Regions from separate parts of the Homo sapiens genome. Here region 1 is linked to region 2. The links are contacts of gene promoters, found by promoter capture Hi-C in blood cells and fetal thymus (Javierre and others, 2016). All regions are on one chromosome and are shown on one strand. The core of a region is centred on a gene start or on the middle of the fragment in contact, and the rest is flanking DNA. Distances in the headings are between cores, read along the strand shown. Region 1 holds the start of HAT1 (histone acetyltransferase 1). Region 2 holds the start of SCRN3 (secernin 3).

Evidence for each region. Contacts are between HindIII fragments. The CHiCAGO score rates a contact against its expected background, and 5 or more counts as called.
Region 1: a contact is called between the fragment with the promoter of HAT1 here and the fragment with the promoter of SCRN3 in region 2, in 1 of 17 cell types (non-activated CD4 T cells). The highest score is 6.2, in non-activated CD4 T cells.

Annotation. Positions count from the first base shown.
Region 1 is chr2:171,918,716-171,923,906 of GRCh38, forward strand. It overlaps HAT1 (histone acetyltransferase 1), which reads left to right and starts at 3,746. Exons shown (of 11, transcript NM_003642.4): 1 at 3,746-3,792. The coding sequence starts at 3,786. It overlaps LOC105373740 (a long non-coding RNA gene), which reads right to left and starts at 3,674. Exons shown (of 3, transcript XR_923579.2): 1 at 3,324-3,674; 2 at 2,365-2,516. RefSeq lists enhancers at 3,182-3,830, 3,971-4,020. The HindIII fragment of the contact is 14,743 bases long and covers 3,285-5,191 here.
Region 2 is chr2:174,393,395-174,398,295 of GRCh38, forward strand. It overlaps SCRN3 (secernin 3), which reads left to right and starts at 2,336. Exons shown (of 8, transcript NM_024583.5): 1 at 2,336-2,423; 2 at 4,881-4,901. The coding sequence starts at 4,890. CIRSR (corepressor of RBPJ and splicing regulator) reads right to left here and starts at 2,318. Exons shown (of 10, transcript NM_004882.4): 1 at 2,157-2,318. The coding sequence starts at 2,228. RefSeq lists enhancers at 2,217-2,266, 2,764-3,264. The HindIII fragment of the contact is 1,293 bases long and covers 1,356-2,648 here.

The DNA of each region.
Region 1 (5,191 bases), core at 2,496-4,995, 2.5 Mb before region 2:
CCCAAAGTGCTGGGATTACAGGCATGAGCCACTGCGCCCGGCCCGATGACCATATTTTTTTGTGCCAAATTTTAATCCATTCTGGAGGTTTCAAAGCAAGATAGTGAAGTTTATCAGTCCATATGAACTTGAGCCTGTACCAACACATGGTTGCCAGTTCATACCTAATAGTGTAATATGGCCCTTTTCTCTGAAGAAAATGCCTTTTCCAAATCTCCCTTACTAGAATAAATGTTATCATAGTAATACCACTTCATACCTGCATAGAGTTTTAGAGTTTACAAAGGTCGTTCACAAATATTATTCCGTTTAGTTTTTACAGCAACCCAGTGTGGTGACTGGGCAGTACTATTATCTCCACTTAATAGATGCAACAAGGTTGAACAAGCATGAAGTAGTAGAACTGGGACTAGTAGGGCAGTAAACTTCCCACAAGATATGTTGTCTCTTCCATATATATATGAGGATAGCATATTCCTTTCATAGAAATTTTATTCCATGATTGTAATAGTTGCTTTCTTAAATTCTCTTTAGAACAAAGTAAAATATAAGTTAAAAAAGGAAAGAAATCCCTACAAAAAAAAAGAGAATTTTTTTCCTTTTGGGTAATTTTCACATTACCTTTCCAAAATAAGTCATTCTTTTATCTTTTAGGTAAACTGTACCAAAACATCTATTCTGTAACATTAAAAAAAAAAAATGTGAGGATGGACATGGTGGCTCACACCTATTATCCTAGCATTCCGGGAGGCCAAGCTGAGAGGATTGCTTGAGGCCAGGAGTTTGGGACCAGCCTGGGCAACATACTGAGACTCCATTTCTACAAAAAACAAAAAAATTAGCTGTGCACAATGGCACACATTTGTAGTCCTGGCTATTTGGGAGGCTGAGAGGCAGGAGGATCTTTTGAGCCCAGCAGTTGGAGGCTGGAGGCTGTAGTGAGCTATGATTGCATCATTGCAATCCAGCCTGGGTGAGAGTGAGACCCTGTCTCAAAAAAAAAAAAAAAAAAAAAAGTGAACATCTAAGACGAGGACAATATAAAACCTCAATTCTGCAAGCAAATCACATTAAATGCTAGTCATACAATATATCAGTAAGTTTCATCATATTTTTTTCCTACAACTAACCATAATATCACAGGACTAATAATCTGTGATATACCACAGTTAAAACGTAATTCTTCTTGATTTCTTACTTATAAAGATCATAATTGCTGGTCAGCAATTGATCCATAGATAAGGTGATTTTGGAAAGAAATGATAAGTCTTGCCATTTTGAAAAGAAAAGTTTTTTTTTTTTTTTGAGATGGAGTCTCGCTCTCTTGAGCAGGCTGGAGTGCAGTGGCACTATCTCAGCTCACTGCAACCTCCGCCTCCTGGGTTCAAGCGATTCTACTGCCTCAGCCTCCCAAGTAGTTGAGATTACAGGCTCATGTCACCACGCCTGGTTAATTTATTGTACTTTTTAGTAGAGACAGGGTTTTACCATGTTGGCCAGGCTGGTCTCAAACTCCTGACCTCAGGTGATCTGCCTGCCTTGGCCTCCCAAGTGCTGGGATTACAGGTGTGAGCCACCGTGCCTAGCCAAAAATGATTATTAAAGAAAAAGATTGTTTTCCTTTTTTGATCCATAATGTCATTAGTCTCATTGATTTCAGTTTTCTGTCTTAACATTATGACTGTAATTTCTTTTTTTTTTTTTGAGACGGGGTCTCGCTCTTGCCCAGGCTGGAGTGCAGTGGCGGGATCTCGGCTCACTGCAAGCTCCGCCTTCCAGGTTCACGCCATTCTCCTGCCTCAGCCTCCTGAGTAGCTGGGACTGCAGGCACCCGCTACCACGCCCGGCTACTTTTTTTGTATTTTTAGTAGAGACAGGGTTTCACCATGTTAGTCAGGATGGTCTGGATCTCCTGATCTCGTGATCCGCCCGCCTCGGCATCACAAAGTGCTGGGATTACAGGCGTGAGCCACCACGCCCGGCCTATGACTGTAATTTCTTGTGTATCATTAGGTTTCAAGAAAAAGGATCTTGAAACCTTTTCTTGGGATCACGACTGTAATCCCAGCACTTTTGGAGGCCGAGATGGGCAGATCATCTGAGGTTGGGAGTTCGAGATCAGCCTAACCAACATGGAGAAACCCCGTCTCTACAAAAATACAAAATTGCTGGGTGTGGTGGCGCATGCCTGTAATCCCAGCGACTCAGGAGGCTGAGGCAGAAGAATCGCTTGAACCCGGGAGGCGGAGGCTGTGGTGAGCTGAGATTGTGCCATTGCACTCCAGCCTGGGCAACAAGAGTGAAACTCCGTCTAAAAAAAAAAAAAAAAAAAAGAAAGAAAAAGGATCTGGGCATTCTCAGTACCTTTTCTGATCTTTATCTTCAGGAAAGCCATCTCTATATAGTTGAGCAAATAAATACTGGGCTGAGTATCTGATGAACTGCACTCTGCATAGGTTGCATACTGAGAATGAACTTGGGCAGTTTATCTTTTCTGGGCTTTGGTTTCCTCATCTCTAAAATGAGAGGGCGTGTTAGTTCTAGACCATCATCCCAAGGGTCCATTTTAGCTTTAGCGTGCATCACTGTAAAACCTGTTAACAAATATTTGTTGAGATAAGGAATTCTGGTGTATAGCCAACATTGTGGGAATATTTGTGGATACCTAAATAGTGGTTTATCCTCTGGGGAAAGCAGTTCCTACAGCTACTAAATACTAACAAGGCCTATGGCTAAAATCAGGTAGCACCTTGTGATGTAATTCAAACCACTAGGACATGTGGCATGCAAGACTACATCAGGCTACTTGAGGTATTTATTAGGTAACAATTTTTTTTTTTTTTTGAGACGGAGTCTCACTCTGTTGCCCAGGCTGGAGTGTAGTGGCGCAATCTCGGCTCACTGCAACTTTCGCCTCCAGGGTTCAAGCGATTCTCCTGCCTCAGCCTCCCGAGTAGCTGGGATTACAGGCGCCTGCCACCATGCCTGGCTAATTTTTGTATTTTTAGTAGAGACGGGGTTTCACTATGTTGGCTACACTGGTCTCGAACTCCTGAGCTCAGGCAATCTACCCGCCTCGGCCTCCCAAAGTGCTGGGATTATAGGCGTGAGCCACCGCGCCCGGCCTAGGTAACGATTTTTGCGCGCTAAACGGTTCTTAGTAACCTGCAGAGTGAAAGCAGAGTACCTAAATATCATACTGTATACGTTAAAAACAGGGGAGAAAGGAAAAAAGGTGTTAAAGTTTACAGCAAAATGAGAAACAAATGAGGAAAACAAGTGAAAGCTTCTCCCGCAACTGAAACTCAACCTCTACATTTTACCTAGGTAAAATGGTAAAATTGCCCACAGGGCTCAGGTGTTTGGATGCACTGTCCAGGCCAAGAGGAAAGATTTTCAGCCAGTCTCCAAAACATCTCAGGGACGGGTATGGAAAACAGGCGTAAAGTGTCTGTATTGATCAAATCAACCCCAGAGAAACTTTCCTAGGGCCAGAGAGCATCTCAACCGCGAAAGTCCGTTTGCGGCCTCCTTCTCCACTTCAGGCCTGCAAAGCGGCTGACGGCATTCGCAGTGGCTAGGCAACGGCCCGCGCAGACTTCTCGGCGTTAGCCCCGCCTCTTGAGGCGCTTCCGCCGCCGGGCTCCTGGACACGCCTCCTTTAATTGGCTAACGTCACGCTGGGAGTGGGCGGGGAAAATATGTCAGACTGTGCGGTCACTTCCGGCCCGGGAGCGCGCGGGTTGATTCGTCCTTCCTCAGCCGCGGGTGATCGTAGCTCGGAAATGGCGGGTAAGTTACCGGGAAAAGTTTACCAAGGGGAGGAGGCGGCCAGATCGGGGATAGAACGCCGAGACGGTGGTGACAATGCCCGCCTAGAACTTTCGGGCTGTAGCCTGGGTTCCAGAAGGCCTGCTTGGGACCGGAAGCGCGGAACTCTCAGCCCAGCAGCTCCTTGTTGGCGGCGGTCCGCGCCCCCGCCCCCAACTGCTTGGGGTTCTGCGCCTTCTGCCAGCAATCCGGCCCCTACCGAGGGCCGAAGACGCCAGGGAAAAGCGTCATGATTTGGGCTCGTAAAATGCCACATGCCTTGGGGCCTGTTTCTCTTCCCATTCCTTTTGTCCACTGCTGCTTGCTTCAGCTCTTGTACATCTGGTCCTGTTCCCGCCAGCTGATTTTAATGCTCAGATCCTCCTCCTCTTCCAGGTCTCCGTCTACCTTCCACTACAGTCAACTTCTGAGCTAGCGCATTGCTGCCTTGCCCTGCTCTGGCGCTCCCACTTGGATCTCGACTGACTTCGTAGTCGTCTCGTTAATCTGTCACACTTTAGTATTCCGAGGATCGTATTTAGATGCCCTTTGAGAAAGACTTTGTTCCTGAACTGCTCCCTTCTCTTTTAGGGTTGGACTACTATAATACAATTCTCTTGTGTACATTCTAGAGACCCTTCAAGTTACAACATTTAATAATGTATAATTGCTATTACTTTGTACGTGTATTAAGGCTGTTTTGGTGTGATTATTTTTTTCGATTACTTATCTTTTGAAGTTATGGACAGTTTCTTTTTCCTGAGACAGGGTCTCTCTGTCGCCCAGGCTGGAGTGCAGCGATCATAGTTCCGGGCAGCTTCCAACTCCTCGTAGGCTCAAGCGATCCTCTTGCCTCAGCCTCCCGAGTAGCTAGGACTACAGGCATGCGCCACAACATTCGGCTAAAAAAAAACAATTTTTTTTAACCTTTTAGAGACAGAGTCTGGCTGTATTGCCTCAGGCCGGTCTGGAACTCTTGGCCTCAAGCCATCCTCTCGCCTCAGCTTCCCAAAGTGTTGGAATGACAGGATTGAGCCACTTCGCTGGCCTTTGTTGCTTTTATCATCTCTTTACAGGGCATTCCTCATAGTCTCTCTACATTAACCATTCCATTTTTATGAATATGTGGGATAGACAAGCTGTTGTGTGAGCTCTACAGATGTTTAAAGAAGGACTTTTCTACCAGATGGAGATTGTAGGATCTTGAAGTACCACAGAAGAGGGAGGACGTACTCTAAGAATTACATCTAAATTCGAATTTTGGGCCCATCATTTAGTAGTTGGATGCCCTTCAACTAAACCTCTTTCTAAGCCTGAACTTTTGAATGTAAAATGGGGTTGATGTAATACCTACTTATAGAATTGTGCAGATTGAGCTAAT
Region 2 (4,901 bases), core at 1,086-3,585:
GACCTTAAAACCTACTGGACTTTTTATAAGCTTGGGAAACTGAAAACAAACAAGGAAAAAAAGAACCTACTGGACTTTAATAAACCCAACATGCCTAATTTTACAATTAGAATTTTCTTTCTTTCTTTTTAAATATAGATGGGGTCTCACTTTGTTGCCTATGCTGGTCTTGAATTCCTGGCCTCTCAAAGTGCTGGAATTATAGGTATGAGCCACCATACCTGGCCCTTAAAATTTTCATGGTGGAACTCTTTTGCACTCTTTGATCAAACTCCTTTGTTTCTTCCACTTCTATTAAAAAAAAAAAAAAACTTTACTGGAGTATGACATATAAAAAGCTGTACATATTTAATGTATACAACCTGAGTTTGGTGACAAGTATATCCCTGTGAAACCATCATCACAATCTACACTATAAACATATCCATCACCTCCAAAAGTTTCCTCCTACCCTAATAAATTTTTCTATTTATCTTCATTTAATATAGTTCCTTTATCCTTAGTTAATAAAGAATGCTAGAGGTCACCCCCTCTCCCCATAAAGTGTTAACTATCTAGAAAGGTCTGCTAATCAAAAACATTTCATTCTTCTCCTCTATCCTGGGAAAAGTATAAAACAGATCAAAGAGGCCAACAATATTTGGTACATTTTACATAACACTTTACACAGATGAGAAGAATGTAGGTTCTAAGCCTATAACTGCTTTACTGAATTTCTCATAGCGGACTTGCAAAAGTTATTCTCTGTGGATTTCTTTTTTCTTGTAAGAAAGCTGATACATTGAAATTTATAAAGCGAAATGTCAAAAGTTCCAGTAAAAAATTATGATTTCTCAGGTATATTTGTCTCTAAATATAAACAGCAAATAAGCAAGCACCTGAATTCCATCTAATCTCTTCATTCTTGTAAAAATAGTAACAGCTGACCCCCTAAGTATGCAGAGAAAGGAAATGTCTGTGTTTGGTGTCAAAAGTTATTGAGCCAACCAAATACAAGAAACCTCTCCCTCCCACAGTTGCAACCACACAAACACAAACTGGTGCAGTGGAAAAAAAATCACTGGGTTAATCAGGTGTTCCAGATCCTAGTTCTGGTACAACATTTAACTAGCTGTGTAACTCTTGGCAAATTTGTTTCCTCATTTATAAAATGAGGAGATGGGGCTGGATGATTACCAAAGAGCTTTCAAGGTGTATCTGTGTTATTAAAATTTCATGGGGGAGTTATTAAGAAAAAATGTTTAATAAGACTCCTTAGGAAGGTAACAGTGAAAAAAAAGTTGAGAATCACTGGTCTAGAAGTGAGAGTATATAGCAGTATCTCATCACCTCAACTCGTTCTAAAAACAAATAAAAGCTTAGTTATTTTCACAAGTTTCTATGTAGGGGCAATCAACATTTTATTGAGCACCTCCTCTCTGTAGTGGACACAGTGATAGATGCCTACGTTGTTTCAAATCCTTTATCTTCACTATTTCACTTAATCCTCACAATTAAGTCAATCATCCTTAATTTACAGATTAGAAGACTGAGGGTCAGATATTACAAATATTTTGTGCAAGGTCTTAAGGCTAAAAGTGACTGCTCGAATAACTAGAATCCAGGTTTGACTCCAAAGCTGATTCTTTCTACTTCACTCTTTTGCTTTTCATTACTATGATATTCACCAAAGTATTACAACTGGTAGACCTGTAATTATGTAAAACACTAAACTTCAACGAGTTTAGTCATCAAAAAGACACTAGATTATTAGGTAATTTTTTTAAAGATCTATCTTAAGTAAACGGGGAGGCTTCTTTGTACAGAAAAGTAGAGTTCAGAAGCCGTGATCCCTGGGATCCGAAAAGACAAAAAACCAGAATCAGCTGAAGGAAGTACTGAGGAATTTTGACATTAGTCTTCGCATATTATGGATTTGCATTCTGGCCGACAAAGATTCTCTAGGCCACCGGTCTCCTCGCTGTTGCAGAATAAACGCTGAGGACCCGCTGCGTCAGCGAGCTGCTCAGCAGAGAAAGGCGAGACCACCAGGGCTTTAGGCCTAGAGAAGCGGAGGCTGTCCTAGGGATCTCAGAGACACCATCACTTTCACTTCCAGCAGCCTCTGGGAAGGCGGTCCCTGTGGGCCTAATCCCTCCCCGGGTCTGTTTACTCACTTTTTTGATATTGGATTTGGAGGCAGGATGAAAGTCTTTCTTGCACATGAAGTTGGCGAAGGATTTCCCCATCTTGGAACTGGAACTAGGGAAAGCAGGGGCTAGATCTGTTAGCAACGTAAACAAACTCAGCCGCCTAACCGGAACTGCGTTTCCAGCAGCAAGGGGGAACTTCCGAGATCAAAGGTGACAGCTTCCGGCAACTGATGCCTCCACTGGCCACTCCTCCCTCCGTCCACCTGTCACTTCGGGTAGCTGGGAGGCCAGGTGAGGGGCGCGCACGGGGGAGGGGCGTGCATAGTTGAGACAGAAACCCGGAAGACCCAACTGTGGCGCGGCACTGCTTGACCGAGGGGCTCCGGAGCCCAGCTGCACCGGCTGCGGTTTGAGCGCCCAGGGCCGGGGTGCGGGGTGGACCGCGGCGGCCCTTCGACCAAAGGTGCTTGAAGCTCGAGCCCATTACTTTCTGTGGACTCTGACTCGAGCTGCAAAAGCTTTTCTGCACTGTTTTTCTCATCTATGTTATGAAGATAATAATTCCGGCCCTAACCGTAGTATGCTTGCGAGAATCCAACAATATGATGTTTCTGAAAGCGCCGGCTGAACTAAGAGCGCGTGAAATAGAATGACAGACAGCTCTGCAAGAACGGAGGCCCTGTCTATTTTGTACCCAGCTGTACGGTACTGGCGCCGAAAGACGTTCAATAAATACTTATTGAATGACGAATACGCGTTAGGAGTTGGTAAAATCTCTCAAGGCTTCACCTCCTCAGTGGGCTAGGTGCAATTCTAACCAGGGGGCAAGTTTCCTTAGCTTTCCCTACGACCCCAGTTAGGCAGCTCAGGTTACTATTGCAGCTTGATGGCCCTTGGGACTCCAGGTTTTTGAGTGGACGTGGCTGCTACTGCAGCAGGTGATCCACCAACCAAGTTCTCTATCAGGGTAATGTTAAGAATAAACCTTGGCCGGGCGCGGTAGCTCACGCCTGTAATCCCAGCACTTTGGGAGGCCAAGGTGGGTGGATCACCTGAGGTCAGGAGTTCAAGACCAGCCTGGCCAACATGGTGAAACCCCGTCTCTACTAAAAACACGAAAAATTAGCCGGGTGTGGTGGCACGCGCCTGTAATCCCAGCTACTCGGGAGGTTGAGGCAGGAGAATCACTTGAACGCGGGAGGCGGAGGTTGCAGTGAGCCAAGACTGCTCCATTGCACTCCAGCCCGGGCAACAAGAGTTAAACTCCATCAAAAAAAAAAAACAAAAAACGAATAAGCCTTTATGAGAAATTTTCTCTCCTACCAAATAATAACAATAACAGCTTTCATGTGAGTATCTACTATGTTCTATGCACTGTGCAAAACACTTTACGTGTTGCCTTATTAAGTTCTCATAACAGCCCATCAAATAGTGTCTTATTTTTCTGATGAGGCAGAAGGCATAGGTAAGAGAGAGATTAAATAGTCTGCCAAAGTTATATAGTGATAGAACTAACTATAAAACACAAATAGAAGGAGATCCAGGACATAAGAGTTGAAATACAGAAAGAAAATAACAGAAGCCATCAAGACATCAGACTTCTCGTCACTGAGGAGAAGAGGAAAACCCTTAAGAGTTTCAGTCTGAAGTTTTTATTTAGTCATTTTCTTTTCTTTTTAAGGAAACATTTATTATATTTAAATTTTGTTTTTAAGTTGCTAGCATCTGCCTGTGTAAAGCCATTTTAAGGTTTTGCCATTATTAAAGGAAAGAAGGAAACTCTGTAAAACAATGTGTCTGTTCTGGCAGCAAAATAAGGACCTTTAGGTGTTCTATTATAAGTGAAGATCTAAGATTTTCCAAGTTACAACTGAAGAGGTAATCTAGATATTAAAGTATATAATTGCGATTTATAAATTAAATATGTGAACTTTCTCCTAGAAATATCAGCAATTTGGAATTATATTGACATATTTTTGTCTGAATCAATGAGTCTGTTTCAAAATTTCAGTCTCATCAGAATTATAATGTGTATTATTTCCCAGCTCAAATAAGACCCCTTCTTCCTTCCTTTGAGGAAGTACTGGGCACGTAAGATTTTTTTCCATAAGACAAGTTCCAGCAAAGAGAATATAAAGATTAGTAAGACATACTCCCAGCCCTCAAGGATCTCATTGTCCAGTAAAGGGATTTATATATACACGAATGTAATGGAATCTAGCCTTTACAACAATAGAGCTAGGTACACGGATTCCCAAATATGGAAATGGTGAAACGAAATTCAGGGAAGACTTTAGGAGAGAAAGGTCTTAGAGAATAAATGTGAACTATACAGTAGAAGAAGGTAGTTCTCATTGCCATTTTCTTACTGAGTTGTAGTACCAGATTGAGTCCCAAGTCATATTCTTACTGATTTTTAGGCTGTAGTATACAAAATTTAAAACTTTAATGAACAGCCAAGCACGGTCACTCATGCCTGTAATCCCAGGGCTTTGGGAGGCAGAAGGGGGAGGATCTCCTGAGCCCAGGAGTTCCAGGCTGCAGTAAGCCCTGATCATACAACTGCACTCCAGCCTGGGTGAAAGAGCTAGACCTTGTCTCCAAAAAATAAAAATAAAAAAATCAAAGCTTTAATGAACATCCTTAATTAGATATGGCAATAATATCCTTTGGTCATTGAGTAAAACTCTTTATTTTTATATACTTAAAAGTGTTCTTTTTATTTTAAAACATCTGTATAATTTTTAGTTAAAAAAAATGGAACCTTTT